Regions from separate parts of the Homo sapiens genome. Here regions 2, 3 and 4 are each linked to region 1. Evidence: promoter capture Hi-C in human tissues and cell types (Jung and others, 2019). All regions are on one chromosome and are shown on one strand. The core of a region is centred on a gene start or on the middle of the fragment in contact, and the rest is flanking DNA. Distances in the headings are between cores, read along the strand shown. Region 1 holds the start of PPIL2 (peptidylprolyl isomerase like 2). Region 2 overlaps HIC2 (HIC ZBTB transcriptional repressor 2). Region 3 holds the start of MAPK1 (mitogen-activated protein kinase 1). Region 4 overlaps MAPK1 (mitogen-activated protein kinase 1).

Evidence for each region. Contacts are between HindIII fragments. The study calls those that stand out against the background at their distance.
Region 2: a fragment that was not itself captured here is called in contact with the fragment with the promoter of PPIL2 in region 1 in 3 of the 25 tissues and cell types used here (H1 embryonic stem cells, IMR-90 fibroblasts and dorsolateral prefrontal cortex).
Region 3: the fragment with the promoter of MAPK1 here is called in contact with the fragment with the promoter of PPIL2 in region 1 in 2 of the 25 tissues and cell types used here (IMR-90 fibroblasts and psoas muscle).
Region 4: a fragment that was not itself captured here is called in contact with the fragment with the promoter of PPIL2 in region 1 in 1 of the 25 tissues and cell types used here (dorsolateral prefrontal cortex).

Annotation. Positions count from the first base shown.
Region 1 is chr22:21,664,323-21,667,950 of GRCh38, forward strand. It overlaps PPIL2 (peptidylprolyl isomerase like 2), which reads left to right and starts at 1,690. Exons shown (of 20, transcript NM_014337.4): 1 at 1,690-1,809. The coding sequence starts at 1,778. RefSeq lists enhancers at 1,622-2,532, 1,767-2,006, 2,077-2,126. The HindIII fragment of the contact is 22,549 bases long and covers 1-3,628 here.
Region 2 is chr22:21,443,517-21,447,144 of GRCh38, forward strand. HIC2 (HIC ZBTB transcriptional repressor 2) reads left to right here. Exons shown (of 3, transcript NM_015094.3): 3 at 1,406-3,628. The coding sequence ends at 3,227. Among named protein-coding and RNA genes, the nearest start is that of TMEM191C, 22 kb to the right of the region's middle. The HindIII fragment of the contact is 7,132 bases long and covers 1-3,628 here.
Region 3 is chr22:21,866,395-21,870,022 of GRCh38, forward strand. It overlaps MAPK1 (mitogen-activated protein kinase 1), which reads right to left and starts at 1,251. Exons shown (of 9, transcript NM_002745.5): 1 at 928-1,251. The coding sequence starts at 1,046. RefSeq lists a silencer at 1,182-1,421. The HindIII fragment of the contact is 55,514 bases long and covers 1-3,628 here.
Region 4 is chr22:21,801,482-21,805,109 of GRCh38, forward strand. The region is part of intron 3 of MAPK1 (mitogen-activated protein kinase 1); the gene reads right to left. Among named protein-coding and RNA genes, the nearest start is that of MAPK1, 64 kb to the right of the region's middle. The HindIII fragment of the contact is 6,513 bases long and covers 1-3,628 here.

The DNA.
Region 1 (3,628 bases), core at 440-2,939:
GACCAGCCTGACCAACATGGAGAAACCCCTTCTCTACTAAAAATACAAAATTAGCCAGGCGTGGTGGCGCATGCCTGTAATAATCCCAGCTACCTGGGAGACTGAGGCAGGAGAATCGCTTGAACCTGGGAGGCGGAGGTTGCAGTGAGCCAAGATCACACCATTGCACTCCAGCCTGGGCAACAAGAGCAAAACTCCATGTCAAAAAAAAAAAGAAAAAAAAAAAGAAAATTCTACTTTGACCAGACATGTTAATTTAATTTTTTTAGGCAGAGTCACTCTGTCACCCAGGCTGGGATGCAGTGGCCTAATCTTGGCTCACGGCAACCTCTGCCTCCCCAGTTCAAGCTACTGTCTCGGCCTCCCAAGTAGCTGGAATTACAGGTGTGTGCCACCACACCAGGCTAATTTTTTGTATTTTTAGTAGAGATGGGGTTTTGCCATGTTGGCCAGGTTAGTCTTGAACTCCTGACCTCAAGTGATCCGCCTGCCTCAGCCTCTCAAAGTGCTGGGATTGGCCGGGCGTGGTGGCTCACGCCTGTAATCCCGGAACTTTGGAAGGCCAAGGCAGGCGAATCAGGAGGTCAGGAGATCGAGACCATCCTGGCTAACATGGTGAAACCCCGTCTCTACTAAACACACACACACACACACACACACACACACACACAAAGTGCTGGGATTACAGGCGTGAGCCACCACGCCCATCCAGACATGTTACATTTCAGATCAGTGGTTACCCAAGTGGAGATCAGGAACCTGGAGTGCTGGTGACTTAGTACTGGGAGTCATGGGATACAAATGGCATTTAAAATTAGGAGCCTAGGCAAGATTACCCTGGGCCTGAGTGTAGCTAGGGGCCCAAGGTACTGATCTGACCCAAGGGAAGGGTCTGGCAGAAGAGACGGAAGGGATCAGGTAGGGCTTTGGACCTCTAGGCTTGATGGCCACCTGCTGCTGGGCCTCCGAGGGGCCTGGAGGCGGTGGGGACCGAATATGCAGAGAGAATGAGAAGTGAGCGAGTAGAACGAGAGTGGTACATGGCTTTGAAGGCATCTGCCACGGAGGCGGGAAGGGATGGGGTGGAGGCTCATGAGACTTGAAGCTCTAGGAGGACGTTGAAAAAGACCTGAGCGCTGGCCGGGCGCGAAGCCTCAGGCCTGTAATCCCAGCACTTTGGGAGGCCAAGGCGGGAGGACTGCTTGAGCTCAAGAGCTCCAGACCAGCCTGGGCAACATTGTAAGAGCCTGTCTCTACAAAAAATTAACAAATTAGCCGGGTGTGGTGGTGCGTGCCCGTAGCTACTCGGGAGGCTGAGGTGGGAGAATCGCTTGAGCCTGGGAGGTCGAGGCAGTAGTGAGCTGTGATTGTGCCACTGCACTCCAACCTGGGCGACAGAGCGAGACCCTGTCTCGAAAATAAATAAATAAGACCTGAGAACCCAGTATGGGAATGGCCCTGAGCCGTGGCTAGGGGGGTAGACAAGGCGGTCCAGACAGACCCCTCAAGAAGATGGGGCTTCGAGGCTGAGGGAGCTCGGCCCCGAAAAGACGCCTGCGGGAGATGGCACACCTAGCTAGGACCCCATACTGGGCAGGCGATCCTTCCGAGCATGAGCACCTGGCGCTAGCGAACCACAATTCCCAGCACGCCAGGCGCCCGTTTCCGGGGCGCGCCGCGGAACCCGGAAGTGGTCACGGAACTCGGCTGCGGCTCCATGGTCTGAGTTGTCAGCCGTTGTTTTTTCGTGCTCGCTAGTCGCCGCCGCCGCTCCGCCATGGGGAAGCGACAGCACCAAAAGGACAAAATGTAAGTTGAGCCGCAGTCGGGAGCGGCGCTCCACTCTGCCTCAGTGAACCGCCTGTCCCGCACTGCGCGCCGCTCGCCTTCCCTCTCAGCTACTCCCCAGAGCACAGCCCAAAGGTCACTTCCTCCCGGAAGCTGCCGCCCTGTCTCCAGTCAGGGTAATGACCCTCGGGCCGCCGCGCTCTCCCGGGGCCGCGGCTCCGATGACGTCAGCTGCGGGCTCGAGCGCAGCCCGGTTTTCCTTACTCTGGTTCTGCCCGGACCGTCCCCCGTCTGTTCGCGAGTTTCGCCCTTGAATGAGTAGTCTCTACCTCTTCCGTACTTCACGTCTCGCTGTGTTCTGGTTCATGCCTATCAGCCTGCAAACGTGCTGCAGAGCCTTCTAATTTAAAGCAAACCAGGTCGGGCGCAGTGGCTCACCTGTAATCACAGCACTTTGGGAGGCCGAGGCGGGCGGATCACCTGAGGTCAGGAGTTCAAGACCAGCCTGGCTAATACGGTGAAACCCCGTCTCTACTAAAAATACAAAAATTAGCGGGGCGTGGTGACGGGCGCCTGTAATCCTAGCTATTTGGGAGGCTGAGGCAGGGGAATCGCTTGAACCCGGGAGGCGGAGGTTGCGGTGAGCCGAGATCGTGTCACTGCACTCCAGCCTGGGCGACAGAGCGAGACGCTGTCTCAAAAATAATAAATAAAATTTAAAAATCCACCCGTGCCCCGTGCCCCACGTCCCACGTTCCCCTCCCGCTGCCGCCGTGTTGTTTCTCTTAAGAACAAGTGAGAGACTAGTGGCTTCATGCTGTTTTCTGAGTCTCTTGAAACCACTCAAGTCAGAATTTCGACCCCAGAACTGTTGGGCTTCTCAACAGTATGTCACACCGTTGACCACTCCCTCTTTCTGAAGCCCTCCTTTGGTATCTGGGATTTCACCTGCTCTTTGTTTTCTCTCGACTTCAGCGGCCTCTCTTTTCAGGTTCCCAGCGACTTCTTGTTGCTAAATATAGTATTCAATCCTCAGTCCTCATTTTTTTTTTTTTTTTTTTTTGAGACGCAGTTTCGCTCTTGTTGCCCAAGCTAGAGTGCAATGGTGAGATCTTGGCTCACCGCAACCTCCGCTTCCCGGCTTCAAGAGATTTTCCTGCCTCAGCCTCCCGAGTAGCTGGGATTACAGGCATACGCCACCATGCCCAGCTAATTTTGTATTTTTAGTAGAGAAGGGGTTTCTCCATGTTGGTCAGGCTGGTCTCGAACTCCTGACCTCAGGTGATCCACCTGCCTCGGCCTCCCAAAGTCCTGGGATTACAGGCGTGAGCCACCGCGTCTGGGCAGCCTCAGTCCTCATTTTGTTGGGCTTCTCAACAGTATGTCCCACTGTTGACCACTCCCTCCTTCTGAAGCCCTTCTTTGGTATCTGGGATTTCACATGCTCTTTGTTTTCCATCGACTTCAGCGGTCTTTCTTTTCCCAGTCTCCTTTCTGGACCCTCCTCCCTTCTCTCAGATCTCATACGTTTCTTTTCCATAAACATTCTCTGTGGGTGATATAATTTCCCAGTCATCTATAAGCTGCTTTCCCCAGTCTTGTGTAGTTAGTGGCTTACTTAATATCTCCACTGGAGGACTGAAAGACATCTCAAATTTTTTTTTTTTTTTTTTTTTTTTTTTTGAGATGGAGTCTTGCTCTGTCGCCCAGGCTGGAGTGCAATGGTGCCGTCTTGGCTCACTGCAACCTCTACTTCCCACATTCAAGCAATTCTCCCACCTCAGCCTCCCCAGTAGCTGGGATTATAGGTGCCTGCCACCATGCCCATGCTAATTTTTGT
Region 2 (3,628 bases), core at 587-3,086, 220 kb before region 1:
AGAGGGCGGTGGGCTCAGAGTAGTTCAGCTGCTGAGAGACTGGACCCTGAACTGCGAGGCTCAGAGCTGCCTGTGGGCCCCGCTGCTCGGTTGTCCGTCAGCCATGAGGAAAGTTCATGTTTTCACTGGCCCCCTGCCCTGTGGAAGCCTGTGAGCCTATCCGGGGCACAGGTGGCCACCTGGACACTGGCATGCCTTCCCCAGCACCCTCCTGCTGAGCCATTCTCTGAGGGACTCTGGTAGGGGTGAGAGGATGGAGCTGGGAGTACTGCGTTTTGTACTGGGGAGTTGGGCTTAGGGCTGAGGATGGCTTTGAGTCATTCAAAGCCTTCCAGAGTCATTCTTTATACCGCCGGCCACAGTCCTTGCCTCCGCCCTTGGAGGGACATTTCCCTCCTCCCCCCGGCGTCTATCTGGTGCCCACTGTGCACCCATTTGCCCTGCCCTTGTACTCCCACTGTGGGGTGCCTGGTCCATGGCAGAGGAGGCTGCTCAGTGGGGATGGGAAGCGTGGCGAGGAGCACCCGCTCAGAACCCCATGTCTTGCTGCTGCATAAGCAGGAACACACCTGGGCCGTCAGAGTTCCTGCAGAGACCAGCGGCGTCAGTGTGCTTCTTGCTTACTGATCTCAGTTAGTGCCTGTGCCATTCTGTGTGATGGAGGCCAGCTGTCCACCTTTCCTAGGCCCAGATGGTGCTGCCCTTCCTAGAGAGGACGGAGGGTTCAGGTGGTGCCAGGTGCTTGGCCTAAGCTACCTTTCCTCCTTGGCAGCTGGAAGCCCAGGCTGGGGCAGCACTTGGCGCCCGCCCAGAGTGCGAGGCAGCCCAGGGCCTTGGGGAGAGGCAGGGCTGGCTGCAGGCTGACTGCAGCATCTGGGAGGCAGCAACATGACTGCTGGCAGTTTGATTTGGGCCCTGCCGTATTTCAAAAGGAACCACCATTTAGTTTTGGGGGATTTTTGCCAGCTTTCAAGACAAGCTCCTCTCACGGAGTCCTCTGCTTCCCGAAGTTTAAAGCCATCTGGTCATTTTTGGGTCCCCTTCTGGTCCCTGAGGGTTGACTTCATTTAGTGTAGAGACAGTAGCCCGGGCTGTGAAACCAAATGCAAATCCCAGTTTCTCTATTTGTCCCCTCATCACCCTCCACCTCCATTTTCTCATTAGTGCAAATGGGGCAGGGGCCTCTGTCCCTTCTCAGTTTGAGTCCTCAGTGAGGTGACACGTGTACTGCGCCTGCATGTGGTGGGCATTGTGGGCTTATGTGCCGTGTACTGTGCCGCAGGGGCTCCTGCCCTATGTGGGGTCAGTTCTGAGGCCCTTTGCCTCGTCGAGCCCCACCCTGCCCCAGAGCCCTGGTCCGAGTGTGCCAGTCATCTGACGCATGCGTGCCTGTTCTTGCCCACAGGTGGTGCGCGTGGGCAGGGCGCGGGGACATGGGGCCCGACATGGAGCTGCCCAGCCACTCGAAGCAGCTCCTGCTGCAGCTGAACCAGCAGAGGACCAAGGGCTTCCTGTGTGACGTCATCATCATGGTGGAGAACTCCATCTTCCGGGCCCACAAGAACGTCCTAGCCGCCAGCAGCATCTATTTCAAGTCCCTGGTCCTGCACGACAACCTCATCAACCTGGACACAGACATGGTCAGCTCCACAGTGTTCCAGCAGATCTTGGACTTCATCTACACAGGCAAGCTGCTGCCCAGCGACCAGCCAGCCGAGCCCAACTTCAGCACCCTCCTCACTGCCGCCAGCTACCTCCAGCTGCCCGAGTTGGCAGCCCTCTGCCGCCGCAAACTCAAGCGAGCCGGCAAGCCCTTTGGCTCTGGGAGGGCGGGGTCCACTGGCATGGGGCGGCCCCCCCGCAGCCAGCGGCTGTCCACGGCCTCTGTCATCCAAGCTCGGTATCAGGGGCTCGTGGATGGGCGCAAGGGGGCCCACGCCCCCCAGGAGCTCCCCCAAGCCAAAGGCTCAGACGATGAACTCTTTCTTGGTGGCTCTAACCAGGATAGCGTGCAAGGTCTGGGCCGGGCTGTCTGCCCAGCTGGCGGGGAGGCGGGTCTGGGGGGCTGCAGCAGCAGCACCAACGGGAGCAGCGGGGGCTGCGAGCAGGAGCTGGGCTTGGACCTGTCCAAGAAAAGCCCACCCTTGCCCCCTGCCACCCCAGGTCCCCACCTCACTCCCGATGACGCAGCCCAGCTGAGCGACAGCCAACATGGCTCGCCCCCTGCGGCCTCTGCTCCTCCCGTTGCCAACAGTGCCTCTTATTCTGAGCTGGGGGGCACCCCTGATGAGCCCATGGATCTGGAGGGGGCCGAGGACAACCACCTGAGCCTGCTGGAGGCGCCTGGTGGGCAGCCTCGGAAGAGCCTCCGGCACTCCACTCGGAAGAAGGAGTGGGGCAAGAAGGAGCCTGTGGCTGGCTCCCCCTTTGAGCGGAGAGAAGCAGGGCCCAAGGGTCCCTGCCCGGGAGAGGAGGGTGAGGGGGTCGGGGACAGGGTTCCCAATGGCATCCTGGCTAGTGGGGCTGGCCCTAGCGGGCCCTATGGGGAGCCCCCCTACCCCTGCAAGGAGGAGGAGGAGAACGGCAAGGATGCAAGTGAAGACAGTGCGCAGAGCGGGAGCGAGGGGGGCAGCGGCCATGCCAGCGCCCACTACATGTACCGGCAGGAGGGCTACGAGACGGTGTCCTACGGGGACAACTTGTATGTGTGCATTCCCTGCGCCAAGGGCTTCCCCAGCTCTGAGCAGCTCAATGCGCACGTGGAGACTCACACGGAGGAAGAGCTGTTCATCAAGGAAGAGGGGGCCTACGAGACAGGCAGTGGGGGTGCCGAGGAGGAGGCCGAGGACCTGTCAGCACCCAGTGCGGCCTACACGGCTGAGCCCCGGCCCTTCAAGTGTTCGGTCTGCGAGAAGACCTACAAGGACCCAGCCACGCTGCGGCAGCACGAGAAGACGCACTGGCTGACACGGCCCTTCCCCTGCAACATCTGTGGCAAAATGTTCACGCAGCGCGGCACCATGACGCGTCACATGCGGAGCCACCTGGGCCTGAAGCCCTTCGCCTGCGATGAGTGTGGCATGCGCTTCACCCGTCAGTACCGCCTCACGGAGCACATGCGTGTGCACTCGGGCGAGAAACCTTACGAGTGCCAGCTGTGCGGGGGCAAGTTCACCCAGCAGCGCAACCTCATCAGCCACCTGCGCATGCACACCTCCCCCTCCTAGAAGCCAAAGACCCGCGGGCGCCCTCTGCCACCTTGCTCCCCGGGAACCCATGGAAGGAGAAGCGAGGTGATGCAGCAGCAGGGGCAAGACCCTGGGTCCAGTGGAGGCTCCGGGTGGCCCCTCTGGCCCCCACTGCCCACACCCAGAGCTTTAATGGACAGTCCGTACCAAGCAGAGCCGAGAGGAGGGAAGCCAGGGGTCCCAGCCCGTCTACCTCCCCATCCCACCCAGGCCCCCAGCTCCCCGCGGGGGCCACCGCAGGGCCTGTGGGCTGGGTCACGTGGGTCTCGCTGGGACCTGGTCCCTTTGTTGCAGGCGGCTTGGAGAAAGGGCAGTGGGACGCTGGCCACGGCCAGGGTGGTGTCGGGAGCAGGCCTCACCCCGCTGGCCGTGTCTGTGTG
Region 3 (3,628 bases), core at 1-2,500, 200 kb after region 1:
AAAAAAAACCGTCACTATCATTTCACTTTTCTAAGGGACCTGAATCAAGATGAGGGAGTCTACGTGTGATTCTGCAAGAACTCCATTAAGGCTGCATACATAATGACCACTAAATCATTAACAGGAGTCCATAGCAATTGGGCTAAAACATCTGGGAGCATTTATGCTGGTAAAAGAGCTCACTTGGGGGCTAAAAAAAAAGTCAAATTAGGCCCAACTCTAAACGGATCTTTAACAAATCAAGAGAGTAATGTTAGTTTATCCTTCCTGAAACGCCAGCAGTACGATATTAAAATCCACTTAGAAGTAAAAACTTCAAGACGGAAATATGCCACCAACACTGGCGTCAGTAATCCATTTTAGAAAGCCTGCGCGGAGACCACCATTAGCACCGCTGAGGATATTTAATGAAAGCCGTTGGCTGCAAACAGAGGCGAAGAGAGAAAAACGATTATTTCGGTGTTCTGCACACACGCGGAGGCAAAACGCTTTCAGGACCTCAGCAGCCACCGCCGCCAACACCGACAAGCATCTGATGGAATTCACAGTTTTACAATCGAAAGTCCAAAAGAAGGCCATGATACTAGCAAATTGAGGGGTGGGGACCCTTCCGTTGCCTTCCCGAGGGTCCAGACTTTAAAGGCCGCGCTGCGCCCGGGGCCAAGGGTCCACTAGTACCGGCCTACGCCCCCCGCGCCACTCCCTGAGCCCCTTCCCGAGCGACCGAAGGCCCGGGAACCGCGAGCAACAACACCTAAACCTCAACCGGCCCGGGGCCGCGCCCGAGCCCTGGCGCGCGGACCGCGGTGAAGTCCGGGTTCGAGGTCGCCGCGGCGCCTGAGGCCGAGGCGCGGGCGAGGCCGAGGCTGCGTCCGCTGCGGCCCCGGGCGGTGGGGGGGCCGGGCGTGGCCGGTCGCGGACACTCACCACACCATGCCGTAGGCGCCCTCGCCGATGTACGAGAGGTTGGTGTAGCGCGGCCCCACGTCGAACACCTGCCCGCGGACCATCTCCGGGCCCGCGCCCGCCGCCGCCGCCGCCGCCATGTTGGCTGCCGGGCCGCCGCCGCCTCCGCCGCGCTGAGCTCGACGCTCGGCGGCCGCCGCTCAGCTCTTGTCGCCCCTCCCGCAGGGACTGCGCCGCCGCCGGTGCAGCCGCCGACGCTGACCGGGAGGAGGAAGGAAGACGCCGAGCGGGAGAGCTGAAGAGCCGACAGCCACTCGGACCGATTGCCTGCCTGCCTGCCAGACTGACGGGCGGGCCGGCGGGCGGGCGGAGGGAGGGGCGCGCGCCGAGGAGGGTGCCGGGGCGGGGACAAGAAGTGTGCATGCGGATTGGTTCCTCGCGGCTGGGGGCGGGGCCGCGCGGGCCGGCGGAAGCGGCGGGCTTCGGGAGGGGCACTGCGACGGCGTTGACTGAGGGGGCGCCACTAGGCGCGGTCACGTGCATTCGCGGTGCATTCGCGGGGGCGTCGGTGCGGGTCGCGTCTCTTAAGACACCCAGGGAGACAGACGTGGGGCAGAACTCATGGGCTGAAGTGAGAGATGGCTGGGGCCCAGGCGAGCGACCGAGCAGGGTCCGAACAGAGCCAGCGAGGGACCCCGGGCTGTGCTTGAGGCCCGACGACGCGCCATATCCCGGCAGCGCCGCAGCTCAGGCCTCTGCGAATCTGTGGTCCACACGCTGATAAACTTAGAGGCCTCTGCACTGGGGCAGAAACCGAAAGGCATGACCCAGACCGAGAAAGATATTTGCATACTGAGAAAGTGTGAAACACAATTGTCGAGACTAAAAGGAGACACTGAGAGGATACGCCAATCAGGTTAGTTCAGATGTTTGTTGAGCACACTCCATGTTCCTGGGGATCCACCCTTATAGAAGTTACCTTTTAGAGAGAGGAGACAGACAAATACGTGTAATGCTCAAGTTGTGATAAGTACGATGAAGAAGTACAAAGCAGAAGGGAGGGCGCGGTGTCTCACGCCTATCATCCCAGCACTTTGGGAGGCCGAGGCGGGCGGATCACTTGAGGTCAGGAGTTTGAGACCAGGTCTCTACTAAAAATACAAAAATTAAGTCCGGGCGAGGTGGCTCACGCCTGTAATCCTAGCACTTTGGGAGGCCGAGGCGGGCGGATCACGAGGTCAGGAGTTCAAGACCAGCCTGGCCAACATGGCGAAACCCTGTCTCTACTAAAAATACAAAAATTAGCCGGGCGCAGTGGTGGGCGCCTGTCATCCCAGCTACTTGGGAGGCTGAGGCAGGAGGACAAAGCAGAGAGTAAGGGATTAGGGGGTGGTGGGTCGAAACACATGAGAGATACATTTGCGTTCAGAGACAGACCGAGATTGGTACAGATAGGCAGAAATGCTGACAGAGCAGGTAATGAAATAGAAATGCAAAGATAGAGTCACTAAAACCAAAACATCGAGGTTTAGAGAAAAAGAGACACACCAGGTTAAGAAACAGTCACAAACAACAGAGGTTGAAAAAATAAAAATTAGAGTCCTGAAGCAGGTGGATACCAAGGAAAGCTAAGACAACGAGACGGACAATGACCCAGGCACTGCTTCTGAACCTTTTCCCCTGCCATGTTTGGAGGGAGAAGGAAGAGCGGCAGACCCTATATCCTCTTTGTTCAACTCTTCCAAGTTTAAAACCATCAACTCTTGACTTCTAGACATCAACAAAGATTAATTAGTCAATCTCAAAGGAGAATAAACAAAGTTTTTTGTTTGTTTGTTTGTTTAACTCTCTGGTGGAAGCTGGTGTGGTGGCTCACGCCTGTAATCCCAACTTGGGCCCAAGAATTCAAGACTAGCCTGGGCAACACAGCAATACCCTGTCTCTAAAACAGAGAAACAAACAAACAAAAAATCCTGTGGGGGAAAAAGGATGTGACACATGAGAAAAGGAATAAACTGCTCCAGCCAAAATTTACTCCTTCAAAATATATTTAGCCCATGAAGCAGGACCCAATTTTAGAAAATACCTAATTCTTGAGTTAATGGGTGCAGCACACCAGCATGGCACATGTATACATATGTAACTAACCAGCACATTGTGCACATGTACCCTAAAACTTAAAGTATAATAATAATAATAAAAAGAAAATACCTAATTCTTATTCTCAAAAGAGGACATTGCATATTTTTTTAAAAAACAGGCCAAGATAAATGGAGTACCATGAAATTAAAACCACAATAACCGGCCGGGCGCGGTGGCTCACGCCTGTAATCCCAGCACTTTGGGAGGCGGAGGAGGGCAGATTGCCCAAGCTCAGAAACTGGGGACCAGCCTGGGCAACATGGTGAAACCCCGTCTCTACTAAGATACAAAAAATTAGCTGGGCCTGCCGGTGTGCCTGTAGTCCCAGCTACTCGGGAGGCTGAGGCAGGAGAATTGCTTGAACTCGGGAGGCAGAGGTTACAGTGAGCTGAGATCGCGCCACTGCACTCCAGCCTGGGCCACAGAGTGAGACTCCGTCTCAAAAAAAAAAAAAAAAAAGAGGCCGGGTGCGGTGGCTCACGCTTGTAATCCCAGCACTTTGGGAGGCCGAGATGGGCGGATCACAAGGTCAGGAGATCGAGACCATCCTGGCTAACATGGTGAAACCTCGTCTCTACTA
Region 4 (3,628 bases), core at 533-3,032, 140 kb after region 1:
AGATCATGCCACTGTACTCCTGGGCAACAGAGCAAGACTCTATCTCGAAAAAGTATAAAATAAAAATAAAAATAAATAAAATAAAAATAAAATAAAATAAAATAAAATGTTAGTCAATTTGTTATGCTTCTGATTCTTTGTGTTAACTTGGGTTTTCAAGACGATGCCTAAATTATGCCACGGCCAACAACTCGTGTGTGTGAGTGTGAGTAGGTGAACAGAATGGCCTTAAAGACAAGTCCATAAACTGGGAAGAGACAACAGAGAGAGTAGTCTGGTTCTATTTGTTTTATTCTTAAAGATGAACACTTTCAAGCAAAAATAAGAGCCAATTCTTCCCAGAAATGTTATATGCTTAAAATATTGATTGAGAATGTCTCTCCAAAAACAAAAGCAATCTGCCATAACAGGGCTATGATGATAACCAAAAGAAAAAAAAAACACGAGGAGACATAAAAATATTCACTGCAAATTTTCAAGACAATCATTAAGTGCCAAAGAAGTAGTACAGCCATCCTAAACATAGCTTTATTCGTTTTGTGCCCACCTGACTCTTGGTTGCACTGATCCAGGTAAAGGAGCTGGTTCCATCCCATGTGGAAAAGACATAAACCTGTATCAGAAGGATCCTAAGAGGGGACAGAGTCCAATCCACACAATATCTGATGAAGGAAGCTGTCCTTTACATCTCACTGGACATTGGCCACCGTGTTCACCCACCGTGACAAAACCCACCGCTTTTTACACACAGTTCTAGAAGGTTCCCCACGATCTACTTGCAACCAACCTTTTTAGCTTAGTGTCGATGACTCCCTATTACTCATCCAATGCTGCAGCCACAGGGAGGAAGACTCAGTGCTTTCGGTAGTAGTCCCTTCCTTCTTATTTTATTTCTGTACTCTCTGCCTATGATACCCTATGTCCAATAGAGCCACTGGCCTCCCGCAAGAAAAGCTACCCAACCTCGAGGGCCGGCACAGATACCACCTTCTTCCTGCTGCCTCCCAGTCCCAGCCAGCGCTAGCCCACCTCTCTCCTTTGCATTTGTACACCATCTTTTTCTCCATCTCAGTTACAGAACATCTCATTATAATCACCTACTGTCTACCAGATTTCTGATCTATCAGTTTTCAGATTTCAAGGGCAGACCCTCATCTCTCTTGTCTGGCGTATCTCAAAGGGCTTCTCATAGGAGTGTCTGTTGAACTGAAATCCAATAAATGATTATTGCTATACATATATATGTACTTAAGCAGCTTTATTAACCTATAATTCACACACCATACAATTTGCTCATTTAAAGTGTATAACTCAATGGTTTTAGTATTATAATGGTGGAAATTAACCATTACCACCATCCAATTTGAAAATATTTTTATAACCTCAAAAAGAAATTCCAGTGAGTTAGTATTCCTTCCTTCTTTATTCTCCCAACTCCTCTAGCCCTAGGCAATCAGTAATCCACTAATTCTAATTTTTGTCTCTATGGATTTGCCTATTCTAGACATTTCACGTAAACAGAATCATACAATATGTGTCTTCTGTGGCTGCCTTCCTTCACAGACATGTTTCCAAGATTCATCCATGTTGTAGCATTATCAGTACTTCACTCCTTTCTCTTCTACTGTGTGGATCCACCACACTGTATTTATTCATCATCAGCTGGACATTTGGATTGTTTCTACTTACTGGCTATAGTGAACAATACCACTATGAAGATTTGTGTTCAAGTTTTTGTATAGATGCATGTTTTCATTTTCACTAAGGAGTGGAATCCTCACCAACACTTATTATCTGACTTTTTAACTACAGCCATCCTAGTTAGCATGAAGTTGTTTCAATGTAATTTTGATTTGCATTTTTCTACTGACTAATGATGTCAAGCATCTATCATTCCATGTGCTTATTGCCATCTGTATATCTTCTTTAGAGAAATGTCTATTCAGATCCTTTGTCCATTTTTTAAACTAGGCTATTTATCTTTTCATTATTGAGTTATAAGAGTTCTTCATATATTCTAGTTTTAAGTCCCTTATCAGATGTATGATTTGCAAATACCTTCTCTCATTCTGTGGCTTGCCTTTTCACTTTTTTGATGGTTTGCTTTGTAGCACAAGTTTCTAATCTTGATGGAATCCACTTACTTTTTTCTTTTGTTGCTTGTGCTTTTGGTGTCATGTCTAAGAAGCTTTGCCTAACATAAGATTGCAAAGATTTACTTCTATGTTTTCTAAGAGTATTAAAGTTTTAGCTTTTAATTGAGTTCTTCAATCCATTTTGAATTTTTTTTTCCTTTTGAGACAAGGTCTCACTCTGTCACCCCAGATGGAGTGCAGTGGTGCAATCTCTGCTCACTGCAATTTCCACCTCCCAGGCTCAAGCAGTCCTCCCACTCAGCCTCCTGAGTAGCTGGGACCACAGGCACATGCCACCACGCCCAGATTAATTTTTTTGTATTTTCGGTAGAGATGGGGTTTTGCCATGTTGCCCAGGCTGGTCTTGCTCCGGAGCTCAGGCAATCCACAGGCCTTGGCCTCCCAAAGTGCTGGGATTACAGGCGCGAACCACTGCACCCAGCCATTTTGAGTTAATTTTTTCATCTTTTTGTATGTGGCTATTCAGTTGTCCCAGATTCATTTGCTGAAAAGACTATTCTTTCCCCAGTGAATGGTCCTGGCATCCTTGCCAAAAATCAGTTGACCATAGATACACGGGTTTATTTACTGACTCTCACTTCTATTCCACTGACCTATATGTCTATTCTTATGCCAGTAGCACACTGTCTTGATTACTGTGTTTTGCAGTAAGTTTTGAAATCAGGAAGTGTATCAGTTCTCCATATGAATTTCCATATGAATTTTGGGATCAGCCTGTCAATTTCTACAGAAAAAAACAACTGGGGGCTTTGATAGGGATTGCACTAAATCTGCAAATCAATTTGGAGAATACTGCCATCTTAACAGTATTAAGTCTTATGATCCACAGACATGGGATGCCTTCCCATTTATTTAGGTCTTCTTGAATTCCTGTGCATTTTTTTAGACTGAATCGACATCGCTCCGTCACATCTAAGATATCCATAAATTTCCCTCGTTTACCTGTAACACCCATTAAAACAGAAATATGTAAATGCTGCATATTTTCAGAACTCTGAGGACTGTAAAGAATTTGGGGTTTTCTTATTTAGTTGGAATGCCTTATTAGGTATTAAAGTCAGTGACGTTAAGTTTTCTGCTGCTATCTTTTGAATAAAATTTATTGAAGAAAAATGTCACCAACAAAACATGATTTTAAAACTAACACATAAGGCCAGGCGCGGTGGCTCACGCCTGTAATACCAGCACTTTGGGAGGCCAAGGTGGGCGGATCACAAGGTCAGGAGATTGAGACCATCCTGGCTAACACGGTGAAACCCCATCTCTACAAAAATACAAAAACAAAGAAAAATTAGCCAGGCGTGGTGGCAGGTGCCTGTAGTCCCAGCTACTCGGGAGGCTGAGGCAGGAGAATGGCGGGAACCTGGGAAGCAGAGCTTGCAGTGAGCTGAGATCGCGCCACTGCACTCCAGCCTGGGTGACAGAGCGAGACTCCATCTCAAAAAACAAACAAACGAACAAAAAAACTAACA